Regions from separate parts of the Homo sapiens genome. Here region 1 is linked to region 2. The links are contacts of gene promoters, found by promoter capture Hi-C in human tissues and cell types (Jung and others, 2019). All regions are on one chromosome and are shown on one strand. The core of a region is centred on a gene start or on the middle of the fragment in contact, and the rest is flanking DNA. Distances in the headings are between cores, read along the strand shown.

What was found. Contacts are between HindIII fragments. The study calls those that stand out against the background at their distance.
Region 1: a fragment that was not itself captured here is called in contact with the fragment with the promoter of STXBP6 in region 2 in 1 of the 25 tissues and cell types used here (dorsolateral prefrontal cortex).

The regions. Positions count from the first base shown.
Region 1 is chr14:24,790,917-24,797,094 of GRCh38, reverse strand. No RefSeq gene overlaps it. Among named protein-coding and RNA genes, the nearest start is that of GZMB, 160 kb to the right of the region's middle. The HindIII fragment of the contact is 8,433 bases long and covers 1-6,178 here.
Region 2 is chr14:25,045,635-25,051,709 of GRCh38, reverse strand. It overlaps STXBP6 (syntaxin binding protein 6), which reads left to right and starts at 1,563. Exons shown (of 6, transcript NM_001394410.1): 1 at 1,563-1,832. It overlaps LOC124903295 (a long non-coding RNA gene), which reads right to left and starts at 1,366. Exons shown (of 2, transcript XR_007064091.1): 1 at 1,276-1,366. The HindIII fragment of the contact is 10,437 bases long and covers 1-6,075 here.

The DNA of each region.
Region 1 (6,178 bases), core at 2,824-5,323, 260 kb after region 2:
TGAGGATTTATGGATCTGTCCTGGAAATGGAAATGTGAATTCAGACCTCAATCTCAAGGATATATTCATATAAAGAAAAATAAAATTTTAAGGCAAACTATGCTAAATTCCAAATGAGTGACAACTTCAGCTAGGACTTTAGGCATTCAGAGAATGGACCCATGCTTGACTGCAAGAAAATGCTGCTCCTCATATTTAGCCTTTCCACAATAGGCATGGGACTGTGCATCATGTTTGTATAGGACAGTTCAGGTTTATATCAATTGTCTTGGTGCAATCATGAATAGTGATTCCTTTCATTCTCAAAAGTGCCTGGCTTCATGGTAAACAACATGGTCACTCTGATAGGGTGTTAGACAGGAAGCCACTAGATTCACCATGCACTGTTAGGAAGAGCTTTGAGTTTGAATTTCAATCCAGTATCAAAAATGATCCCCAAGTTTTTGTGCCACTGAAATCGCAGTACAAAACACTTTCAGTAGATTGTAAGTAAAACAGACATTTCAATAATACTTGACTGTCTTAGTCTGTTTTTTGTTGCCATAAGAGAATAGCTGAGACTGAGTAATTTACAATGAACAGAAATTAATTTGGCTCATGTTTCTGGAGGCTGGGAAGTCTAAGACTGAGGCGCCACATCTGGCTGCATCATTCTATTGCAGAAGAGTGGAAAGGCAAGAAAACATGAGCGGGGAAGGAGGTGGTGAGGGGAGGTGAGGAGAGGAGAAGAGAAGGGACGAGAAGGGAGGACAAGTGAATGGAGGGGAGAAAAAAGAAGAGAAGGCGAGAGAGGAAGAGGGAGCCAAATTCACTTTTATTACAAAACCACTCCCACTGTAAAATATCCACTCCCCGGCTAACAGCATTAATCCATTCATGAGGGCTCTGCCATTAGGCCCCACCTCCCAACACTGCTGCCTTTGGAGTTGTTTTCAACACATGAATTTTGGGGAACACATTTAAACCATAGCATTGGCATACAGTATTTAGATTCTCTTACTGGCAAGTTGACATGAGGAAATTTAAATTACATTATCTAATGAGATACAGCGGTTTTAATACACAACACCTCCTACAACTAAAGCAGCTGGGGAGAAGGCCTTTGGTTTGCTTCAGATTGGTTTTGTTTGGTTTGGTTTCTAAGCCATTCTTATGAGCAGGATGGTGGTAGTGGGTAGAGGGTTGGAGAAGAAAAGAAGAGGAAGAGTTTAAGAGAAAGAATATAAGAATATAAGCAGGCTTGAAGAGAAAAGAAAAGACAGTGCTAGATATCTTGTCATATTTACCAGGCTTGAAGAGCAATCGTTGATTCTACCCCTGAACTTGATTCTCAAAGTGCTGTCCTTTCAAAGACATGTCATGCCCTGGGTGGAAGGTTAGAGTGGAGCACAACTCACTCAACTCTGAATCTGTTCTAGTAAGTTTCTTAGCAGTGTAAAGGTGAGAACAATGTGTGGTGCTTCGAATCTATCTGTCACGTCAAACCAGGTGTGGGCTGAGTTATGTCACTCAAATTGGTCCATAAAGGGATGAGAATTAAAATGCTGACAAAATGAGCACATCGAATTATTGAAAGCTATTTAATATGCTCAAGTTCACACCTACCTTTGGGAGATTTAAACGAGACTCCCTCTTCCAGCTGTTTTTTCTTATCTTCTGACCAACTTATTAACCAGGATTAATACAACATTTAATGCTGGGTGTCTTTTTTGGGCATCTCTTTTCTTTTTCCTTTTTTAATTCCTCCTTATATCTCTCCTTCCCTGGGATGATACCACTGGTGACTCCCGGGCCGCCCTCTAGTTGAGCCTGCAGGTGATTTTAGTCTAGTTTCCCTTTGCTTTGCACAACCTACCTCAACACTCCCTTTCCTTTCCCTTCCTCCTCACTTTTCTCATAAGATATTTGTGTAGTTTTGTGAGAGGAAGAAGAAAAAAGAGAAAAGAGGAACAACTGATGAGGAGGGAAGCCTGAGGTGAGGGGCACGAGGAGGAGTGAGAAAGGGTACAGCGTGAAGGAGAGGGGTGGGGGGTTGGAGGGAGGAGGGAAGAGTGGGAAGAAGCACGGAGTGGCATACATGAGGGGAAAAGACCACGAAGGAATCCTGGTCAGTCACAGACCCTGTGCCGCCTCCATGTTTTAATGTCTCAGACAAGCCGAAAACGGGTCTGTGGGAAGTTGTAACACTCACCAAACCCTTGGCAACAGCTATTCTTCACAGAGCCTGTGAACAATTGCCCACCTGCCAGTGTCTGACTGAAATAATAGCTGTACCTACAGGATCATTTGGAAGACAGATGGCGGAGGCAACCCCATTCATCTGCTGGCAGCCGTTTCATAACTCTCACTGTCCTGTCAGGCCAGGATGGGAAGGCAGAATGCAGCCTTGCTAATTACTGAAGCTCATTAGATTGTTGTTTTTTGAGAGACCATTCCCCTATCCCACCCCTGTCCTGCGCTTCCCCCCAAGCCCCAATGTGCCCACCCCCTCCCACAAAGTGCTTTCAGGAATACCATTGGCACCCTTAGAAAAAGCAGATCTCCAAAGTCTAAAAGCCTTAATGTTTGCTAGGTGGAGGGTTTGTTTTTGTTTTTGTCTAATATTTTCACTCTGTCCTCTTTCCTTCTTGCACATCCAAAAAGGGGTCCCTCATCTTCCCTAGTATTCACTACTTCCATGATTCTGGCCCATCGGTATTTATTTCAAAGACTGGATGACTCTTCCAATATTCCATTGTCGTTTTCTACTTAAAGTGCCATACACTCCTGTTATCATTTTTATAACGTGCATTAATCCAAAGGCTTTCTCTTAATGCAATGTGTATGGATTTAGAGAGCCTTTAAGAGCTCCGTATCATTTCAGTATATCTGATATCCTTCGTTGTCATTCAAAATCAATTTTTGAGAATTCACTATGTGGATGTGAAAAGGAGTGAGAATGGGGAGAAATGGAGAGATCTTACAAAGGAGGGCTGGCTTTATGAGCATTAACCAGTGCAGTGACCCAGGACCCCATGTTCCCTTTCATACTCTGCAGTCACCATCTTGAAATAATTAAACGTGTTTAAACAAGAGCCCGTCATTTTGCACTGAATTCCACAAATTATGTAGCTGGTTCTGCTTCAACTATTGGAAAAGTATAGAACTGCTGAGGGCTCAGGAAGGAGTACTTTCTGAGCCAAAGTTAAGAGGCTGGAAAGCCCACAGTAAACAGAGATCAGCAAGTGGAGAAGACAAAGATCAGACCATTCAGCAAAGAAAACACAGACAGAAAATATTAGCATCCATTAGAGCACTACCCCAGGAAGGGGCCCTGCATTTGACCTGCTGACAAAATCAAATTTCCAAGCCTGAAGACTGCAGACAGACCCCAGATCACTGAACACTCACCAAGGTGACAGCACCATCCCTGACACTTCTTTGGAAACAATTGGCTGGCGTCAATCTTTTCACTATAGTACCGATTTCACTAAATACCAGTTCTACTAAAACTTTAGCAGAAGATGCATCAGAAGGATTTGTAAAATAATAATAATAATAATAAGCCTGGAATGTAAGTGTGAGTCTGTAAAAGTAAGGCTTTAAATGCCACACTGAAGCGAAAGGGGAAGCTCCTGAGTATTTGGGGTGGGAAAGTGACTGGGAGCTCTGGCTGCTCCAAGAAAGGAAATATTCTTTCTAGACACATCTGGCCCTTTGTTCCTAAGGCTGGTACAGTAACAAACCACTCACCACCACCTTCCCCTGTGGCATGGTCCCCACTCACTACTCTCCTTTCTCACACTGCTTTTCCCACCCCATAAACATACACAGCAGAAGTCTCCTTGTTGTCTTCAGCTTTGGCCCTGCTGCTGCCTTGAACTCAAGTCACAGACCGTGCATCAGTCCATCACACTACACATGCCTGAATTTGTACCTCTGATCTCTTCCACGTTGCTTAGGTGAGTAATCCCGTACATAGCCCTGCTTGTGGCAGGCAGAATTCTAAAGACAGTTTAGTACTTAGGCAGGGCATGATCAAGGCAAGCTTTAGGATTAGATTTGAAGGGATAATGGATGAAAAATGAGAGATGAGAGTCAAGCCAACCAATTGGGAGATTATTGCAAATGACCAACATGAAGAAATAAGGTCCAAAATTTAATGGCATTAGATATGGATAAGAATGATAGATTTGAGAGTCTCTATGAAAGAAAACTGTCCTGACTTAGCAACTGATTGGATGGGAGAGAAGAACGCCTTCTCAAAGAGTTGAAAAGAATATGATAGAGCATCCATTAAAGTAAGTGGAAATAAATGTGTTCAAGTCCTGAAGATGACTCTTCTAAGATAAGAAGGAACCATGTTAGTTAAAATTGTTAGTTTCATGTAACAGCAACAATTCAATTCAAACTAGCTTAAGGGGCTGGAGAGTAGGAGGGTGCTACATATTAACATGCAGGTGTGTCATAGACTCTAGAGATGGAAGGTAGCAGAGCCAAGATGGTGGGAGCTGTCCTGCCCAGTGGGTCAGGCCCAGAACTGGGCAGGACAGCTGGACTGGCCCAGGTTATGGAAAGTCCCTGAAGCCACAGAGTGCTCCCTTTCCATCTCCCATCTCTTATTCTCCTGAAGACCATCCTTCTGGATCAGTTAGCCCACACAGCTGATGGAAGATAGCCCTAGCATAGCTGTAGGGTTAGAGAGAAGCCCCGGCTAAGCTGGAATTACTTAGTCCTGATTCCCAATCCCCAGGGGAGCTCATCATCAGGTTGGCTAAGATGGTTGTCCCACTTCTCACCACAGTGCCATACTGCAACTCTGTGGGAAAAGGGGAGAAGAATTAATTCTTGAGCAAGGCAGATACTCCCAAAGTTGTTTACCCTAAAAGCAGAAGTGGTATTTCAAATTTTAGTTTTCACAGACCCAAGAATGTACTCCTCTTTCTACACAGAAGAGTTTAGAATCCTGCAAAAAAGCAGCTGGATTCTAAACCCTATGCTCCCTCTAACTAGTGGTTTGAGTGACCCTTAGTACTTCTGACTATAAACTATGAAACTTGGCCCAGGTGATGCTGAGGGCTCCCATATTTAATGCCCAATGATTCTAAGTCCTTTTGAGAAGAAACAATGCTATATTGATCTAGTTCTCCTGTTTAGCTTTCCCTTGTCCTCCAAAGATCAGAAATAAAGCCTTTTACCATTAATCCTCTCATTGACTTATAAGAGGTAAAGAGCAGCCAAAGAAAATAGTTTGTAGTTTGTATTCCAAGAGAGCTAGACCACCTAAAAATCTCCTTAGTACTCGAAAAAATTTTAAAAGGAGCTTAGTTTTAATTGGCTTAAAGTCTCTTGACATAAGTAGTGGTTCTGTTTCCCACCACCACCATCAAAAATGTGTCCCTGAGACCCACTGGGAAGGACAGCTCCCACATCCTGGCTCTCTCCTGCAGTTTTTCTTAGAACTATAGAAGGTTAGACCTTCTGGTGCTTTAGTGCAATCCCTTCAATTTTTTTTTCATTTTTTAAATTTATGATTGATACAAAATCATCGCACATACTAATGGGGTACAACATGATGTTTCAATACATGTATAAATTGTGTAATTATCAAGTCAGGGTAATAAGTATATCCATCACTTTAAACATTTATCGTTGCCTTGTGAAGAGGACATTCAAAAACCTCTCTTCTAGCAATTTTGAAATATACAATGTATTATTATTAACTCTAATCATCCTACTATACAATAGAGCACCCAAACGTATTCTTCTTATCTAACTGTAGCTTTGTACCCATTGACCAATCTGAAACAATCCCCCTTTTCCCCCTACCCTCCCCATCCTCTGGTAACCATGATTCTGCTCTCTACTTCTATGAGAACAACTTTGTAGCCTCCATATATGAGTGAGATCATGTGGTATTTGTCTCTCTGTGCTGGGCTTATTTCACTTAACATAATATTCTCCAGGTTTATCCATGTTGCCACAAATAACAGGATTTTATCTATGACTGAATAATATTTCATTTTGTATATATACTACATTTTCTTTATCCATTAATCCACTGATGGACATTTAGGTTGATTCCATATCTTGGCTATTGTGAATAATGCTAGAATAAACATAAAAGTGCAAATATATGTTTGACATACTAATTTAATTTCCTTTGAATATATACCCAGTAGTGGAATTGCTGGATCAT
Region 2 (6,075 bases), core at 314-2,813:
GCAATTTTCTCTGATTTTCATAAAACTGTAGCTACCAAATGGGGATACCTAGGGTATCAGTTTTATGATATCCTAGGTATCCCCGTTTCTCCCATTCTTCCCCTCCAAACCATCTTCCTGGGTCTGCTGCCCTGTCCATCTTCACAGAATTCAGTTCGGATTGTCTCCTCCCCCAGCATCTCTGCTATCTCCACGTAGTCTACAAACTAAGTGCAGGAGCCACAGACTGACAGTCAGGACTTCTGCCTGAGCCCCCATCCACAGCTCAAACCCTCTTTCCTATTTCACTATGCTAATGCTTACCCCTTGCACTCCAAACAAGCAGGTCTGTGTACCACCATCTAACACCCCAACAGGGCCAGGCTAGGGTGAGGTGAGTCACAGCACTTAAAGGTTCACCAAAGAATTCAGTAATCAAGGTTAATATTTTAATGGAATATTTAAAAAAATCAAAATTAATATCAAAAATGCATGATGAAAAATAACAAAATTTTAAATAAAGACAGGGTAAGTTTAGGGGTTTTTCCTATTGCTTCAGGCTCAAAAGTGCCTTCCGGGGCACTGTTATCGGCCCTGCAGTGACTCCCCACACAGATACTTTTACTAATGATGTTTCCCAAAAGTTAGTTCTTACAACCGCTTTCTACATTAGTAACGTCTTTCTTCTTGAACGCTCCAGCATTTAAGTGTAGCGCTCTACTGTCAGGAAAACCCATTTCCCCTAGTAACTAGTAGTACTTCGAAGATATTCTGAATCATCTTGGATCCTTTCCAGCACTTTCCCAAACCACAGTGAGCACTCAGCACCACTTCGCTAAAAGAGTGCAGAATCACAATGCTCAAATCACTGTCTGGGGGGTTCAGCAGGGAGGGGACGCAGATATGTTTTGTTTAGTCCAGGGTGTTTTGAGAAAATTGAATTTGTTATCAAGATTTTACAAATCAGGATATTGTACATGAATATACTCCGTCATTTCTGGAAAAATCAGAAAATCTAGCAACACTAGGTCTAATTCTTGCCCGATAGCAAGGGACCCTGAGAGCAGATAAGCGGCCCTGCCTTCGGAGCTCTCTCCAGTTCGCCTTCCCCCAGTTACAGTGCCTGTCAGGCCCCATTAGATCTTTGAGTTTGCTATCGTAAGAATAAAGGAAGGAGCGCACAGGATAAAAACCCATCGGCTGGGTCTATTCGTTTTTTCCTAGAGAAAAAAAAAAATGTTTCCTGGTTGTCCTTTCGAATATAGTCTCACAGAGAAGCTCACAGAAGCAGCCCACCTTTCTAGCCCACAAACTTCCCACAAGCCGTGAAAGTCGCACCGGCTCTTGCACCCAGATCGGTTTCTCCCGGGTCTTTGGCTCAGGGCCCCCGCCCCTACATTGGCCTTTCCCTTCCTCTGCCACCTCCGCGCTCCGAGGCCTGGGGCGGGTCGCGGGTCCCGGCCCCCAGCCCCCAGCCCCTAGCCGCTGCTCTTTGCCCCGGGCCAGGGCGCTCGGGCTCGCCCACGGCGGCACTGAGCATGCTCAGAGGCGGCCGCGCGGGCAGGTTTGCTTCGCAGGCGCTCGCACTCGGCGGCGGGCGGGCGCGCGGCTGCAGCTGGAGCTCCAGCGCCCGGAGTTGGAGTTGCCGGGAGTTTCCCCCCAACCCCTCCCTTTTCGCGCGCGGCAGCAGGAGCCGGCGCGGGAGCCGCGAGCGGCGGCGAGCCAGCACCCGGGCCGGCTAAGCCTTGTCCGGAGCCCGGAGCCCCGCGCGGGGCAGCCCCCCGGGGAGGAGCCTCGTGCTCTGGGACGCGTGCCGCGCACTGGCACGGCAGGGGCGCGAGCCAGGCTGCACGGTAGGACCGGGGCGAGGGGAGCCAGGCGGTCAGGGCGGAGGCCAAGCCCGGGAGATGCGGTTGCAGCCGCCACGGCTGTTGGGGCGCCTGGCGCTCCGTCCGAGGCGGGTGGCTGTGAGGCCAGGGGAGTAGGCAGGCTCCCAGAGAGATTCTTCCAAGTTGGCGGGTGGCGGGAGAGGGGGCCGCGCGCCCCGGCGCAGCTGCTTTGTGCGCGCAGAGAGGGACTCGTGTCCCTGGTTCTCTCCAACCCTGGGACCCGTTGTGCGGGCAGTATTGGGCAAGCCGCAGAACGGAGCGATTTCCTCCGAGAAAGTTGAGGATGGAGCCTTTTTTTCCGCACCGTCCCCGCGATGGCATGGGCCCCGAGAATGCTGCCCCGAGGCTCCCAGTGTGGGGGAGCTCGGGGTCGCTGCGCCTCTAGCTTGAGCGCAGAAATCCGCGAATCACTCCGATCTTCGCGAACTCTGGCATCTTCTAGGAAAATCATTACTGCCAAAACTGAGGCGAGCTTTTCTGGCGGGCACGGCACCCTGCCCCCAGGGCGCTGGCCCTGGGCGATGCCCCCTTTCCGATCTCAGGCTTGGTCAAGGGCGCCAGGTTCCGAATTCGCGCTTGCCGTGCACGCCGGCATCGAGCCTCACCAACACCGCCGGGCAACGTGGCTGGAGTAGGTGGGTGGCTTGATTTTCCCTCCAACCTTTCCTCAGGTTTACAACACCCCGCCACCTCACCACCCCACCCCGTTCATCTTCACAGAGGACAGGACCTGCAGGTGGAGAATTTGGAAAGACATCTTGTTCTTTAGGAGAAAGTCCCCGGGGTGTATCTGCCCTTGGTTCTGGCCCCAGGATTTCATAACGAACCTTCTCCCCTTCCTATTACGCTTCCCTAGGGACTGGGTGGGAGAGAATAGGATCGGTAGGTCCGCAGGAACTTCCATCTCATTCCACCCTCTCCTAAGATTGCCTTCCGGGCGACCCCAGGACCCTGGAACTGGCATTGTGCGGATTGTAAGGCTGTGGAGGATGCCGACGAATTTTTCCTGGCTCCACTTTTTTCACTTCTTGTTTTGAGTTTTGGGGTTTTGCCTGCACACTAGTCAGAGCTGCGCCCTAGTCAGAGCCACCCTGGGGGTGGAGGAGCTTCAGCCGAGGCTGTGAGCTGCTGTTCGTCTCAGAGGCTGCTAGTGGGAATCGGTCCAGAAATGATTATGCAGGCTAGAAATATGCCTCTCTTTTTTTCTTTTTTGGCTGAACACCTTGGCTGTTGGGTTTGTGTGTTACGTTCTTAAAGGGACACCCTCACACTGCTCAAGTGCCAGGATTTAGGGGCTCACCATTCTGCTGCCTGTTTTTCTCTTTGCTTTTTCCTTGAGGGTAGTCTGCTTTGGGGCCGATTTCTAGATGTGCGAATCACATAATGTGGATACACTACACAGTTCTAGAGTCAGACAGACTTGAGGTCAAGTTTCAGCTTTACAGCTGATGACAGTGCTGATGGACAAATGATTAGTCACTCTGAACTTAAGTTTTCTCTTCTGTCAAACGGAGATAATCGTGGCCTTACCTCCCTCCATTGCAGGGTTGTTGTAAACTCAGATGAGATAATGAAAATGAAAAGAGCTAAGAAAACTTTAAAAGCACCATTCAGGTCTTAGATATTGTCTCTGTGCTCTTTACTCAGTTGTTTTGAATGAGCTAATTCTTAATTATAACAAGACATCTAGGTCTTCTCTCCTCTCTGTCCACTCCTCACCAAGTGGTTTAGTTGCTTGGGCCTTTGGAAGCATCTGTTTACCCTTTTTCTTTCTCTATCCTCAAATCCATCTCTTTTGATTTTAAGAATTGGAGCTCCAGTCCTCATATTTATCTGAGGAAGGCAGCATGATGTAGATTAGGAGATGACTGGGGTGGCCTTATCAACATTCAGAGTCCTAGGCCCCAGAATTGGCACGGTCAGAAAGGCCTTAGTTTGAAACTCAAGGCTGATGAAGAAGTCAGCAGATCCTGGAATGGAGCTCTGACTTGACCTCTAATAGTGACCTTGAACTAAGGACTCAAATCCTAATCTGTGAAATCAGTCTATGAAGATTAAAAGCCAGTATCAATTGAAGGCAAGAACAGGTGAGATTATCACTCAGTTAAAAAGGGTTCACACAGGCTCCTGAGCCACCCCAGGTGCAGCATCTTCCCTAATCTTAGGGCAGTGGTTCTCAGATCAGAATCATCTGGAGGGCTTGTTACATCTCAAACTGTTGGGCTATACTGCCAGAGTCTCTGATTCTCTAGGTCTAGGGTGAAGGCCCAAGAATTAGCATTTCTGACTAGTTCCAGATGATGCTAATGGTGCTACAGACCATGCCTATAGAATCACTAACTTATGGAGTGGGAGATAGTAAGAGAGATGACGTTTGTTGTGAAATGCCATTATTTTACTAGCTCATATACAGAGACAAGGTTTCTTTGGGGGTGTGTTGGGAAGTCTCCTTAGGCATTTTATGTTCCAATGCCTGTGCCACTTACCATTATCTAGGTTTAATAATTCTGATTGCTCTTCAAATGGATGTATTTTACAAAGAGGTAGGATTCCCCCTTCTTTTCATACTGTAAAATATGTAGTCTCAGGTTTTAGATCACCCTTGGGTAGTGCCGGATTGGTGACCTTTATAATTTATAAAATCTAAAAACTACCCCATTTCCTTTTTTGGAGAAACCTCAGACATTTGTGGAAAGGAGGTTACGTACAGTTCTGACAGCTTGAACCTTAAGGTTGGAGGACAGAATAGATCACCTAGGGAACAAGTTTAAGAAGAATTTGCAGTGGTGTCTTTTCCGAATGGACAGCTTACCCAGGCCCTGGAAGGAGCATGAAGTACACCCCACGACAAATGTCCCATGGTGGTTAGACCTGGCAAAGCCCTTTCATTCCTTCTGGAGAATGGTAGTGGCATTGGCAGTGGCTGAGACCCTCTCTTCGTCTCTAAGAGGGTAGAAGGCTGGCTTTCAGGGGCAGCTGATCAGTATTAGTGTGGTGTCCTGTGTAACCTAGCTTGTAATGAAGCACTATTGGGACCTAACCCAATCTTAAGCTCTTTTCCTTTTCCCCCACGCCATAGTCCTGTGCTGTGAGCTCACCATGACTTCCTATGACCTAGACTGTGGCCTTGAATTTTGACTGCTTTGCATCAGAGAGGCTGTGGGAGCCTGCTTGAGTCAGGAGGGTTCCTGCAATAACATCCTAAGGAAGAAATAAAGTTTACATAATGTAGTGCCCAAATCAATTAGGTATAAGAGGAGGTCAGTCAGTGCCTTAACTAGTTCTTGTGTTGCTAGGCCAAATGGGATCCCAGCTCACTGTCATGCTTTATCTCAGCTGTCCATTTGTGCTTTGTTTTAGTTTTAAAATGATTAGCACTAGAGAAACCTATCAGTAAATCAGAAACCTTTAAAAAACTCAAGTGTACACTTAGTGTTTTAGTAGATAAAACTTTCAGGCCCAAACCTGTCTTCCTGACAGCAGTCAGCACTTGGTGAAGGAACAGCCTTCTGGTTGTCACTCTTAAGATTCATTAGTTAATTTCAATGGTTTTTCCCACTTAGTATAAGTAGGGAACATTTCTATTTTAAAATTTCTTCCCATAACCTGATGTTTATATTTTGGGTGTTACCCCTGCTTTGAGGGCAGCCTCTTATCACTGTTGTTCACTTTTCTCAGTACATGGTATCTTTGCTCCCTTTAATAAATCTGTTGTGAGACGGTCATTATGACACTTTATTTCTTTTTGGTCATTAGGACTGTTATTACTGAGTCACAGAGAGTCAGGGCCCATTCCTAGAGCATTATTCTCTATGTTCCTAGAGGGTGCTTTTAAACTAAAACACTAGTTATACTGCACTAGCTCATTTCTAAGATACATTCTTTTTCTGATTTCAGAAGCCCAGATGGATCTTAAAAATTATGAACACATTTAGGCCAGGTGCAGTGGCTCACACCTGTAATCCCAGCGCTTTGGGAGGCTGAGGCGGGTGGATCACCTGAGGTCAGGAGTTCAAGAGCAGCCTGACCAACATGATGAAAACCTGTCTCTACTAAAAATACAAAAACAAATTAGCTGGATGTGGTGGTGGGCACCTGTAATACCAGCTACTCGGGAGGCTGAGGCAAGAGAATTGCTTGAATCTGGGAGACGAAGGTTGCAGTGAGCCGAGATCGTGCCATTGCACTCCAGCCTGGGCAACAAGAG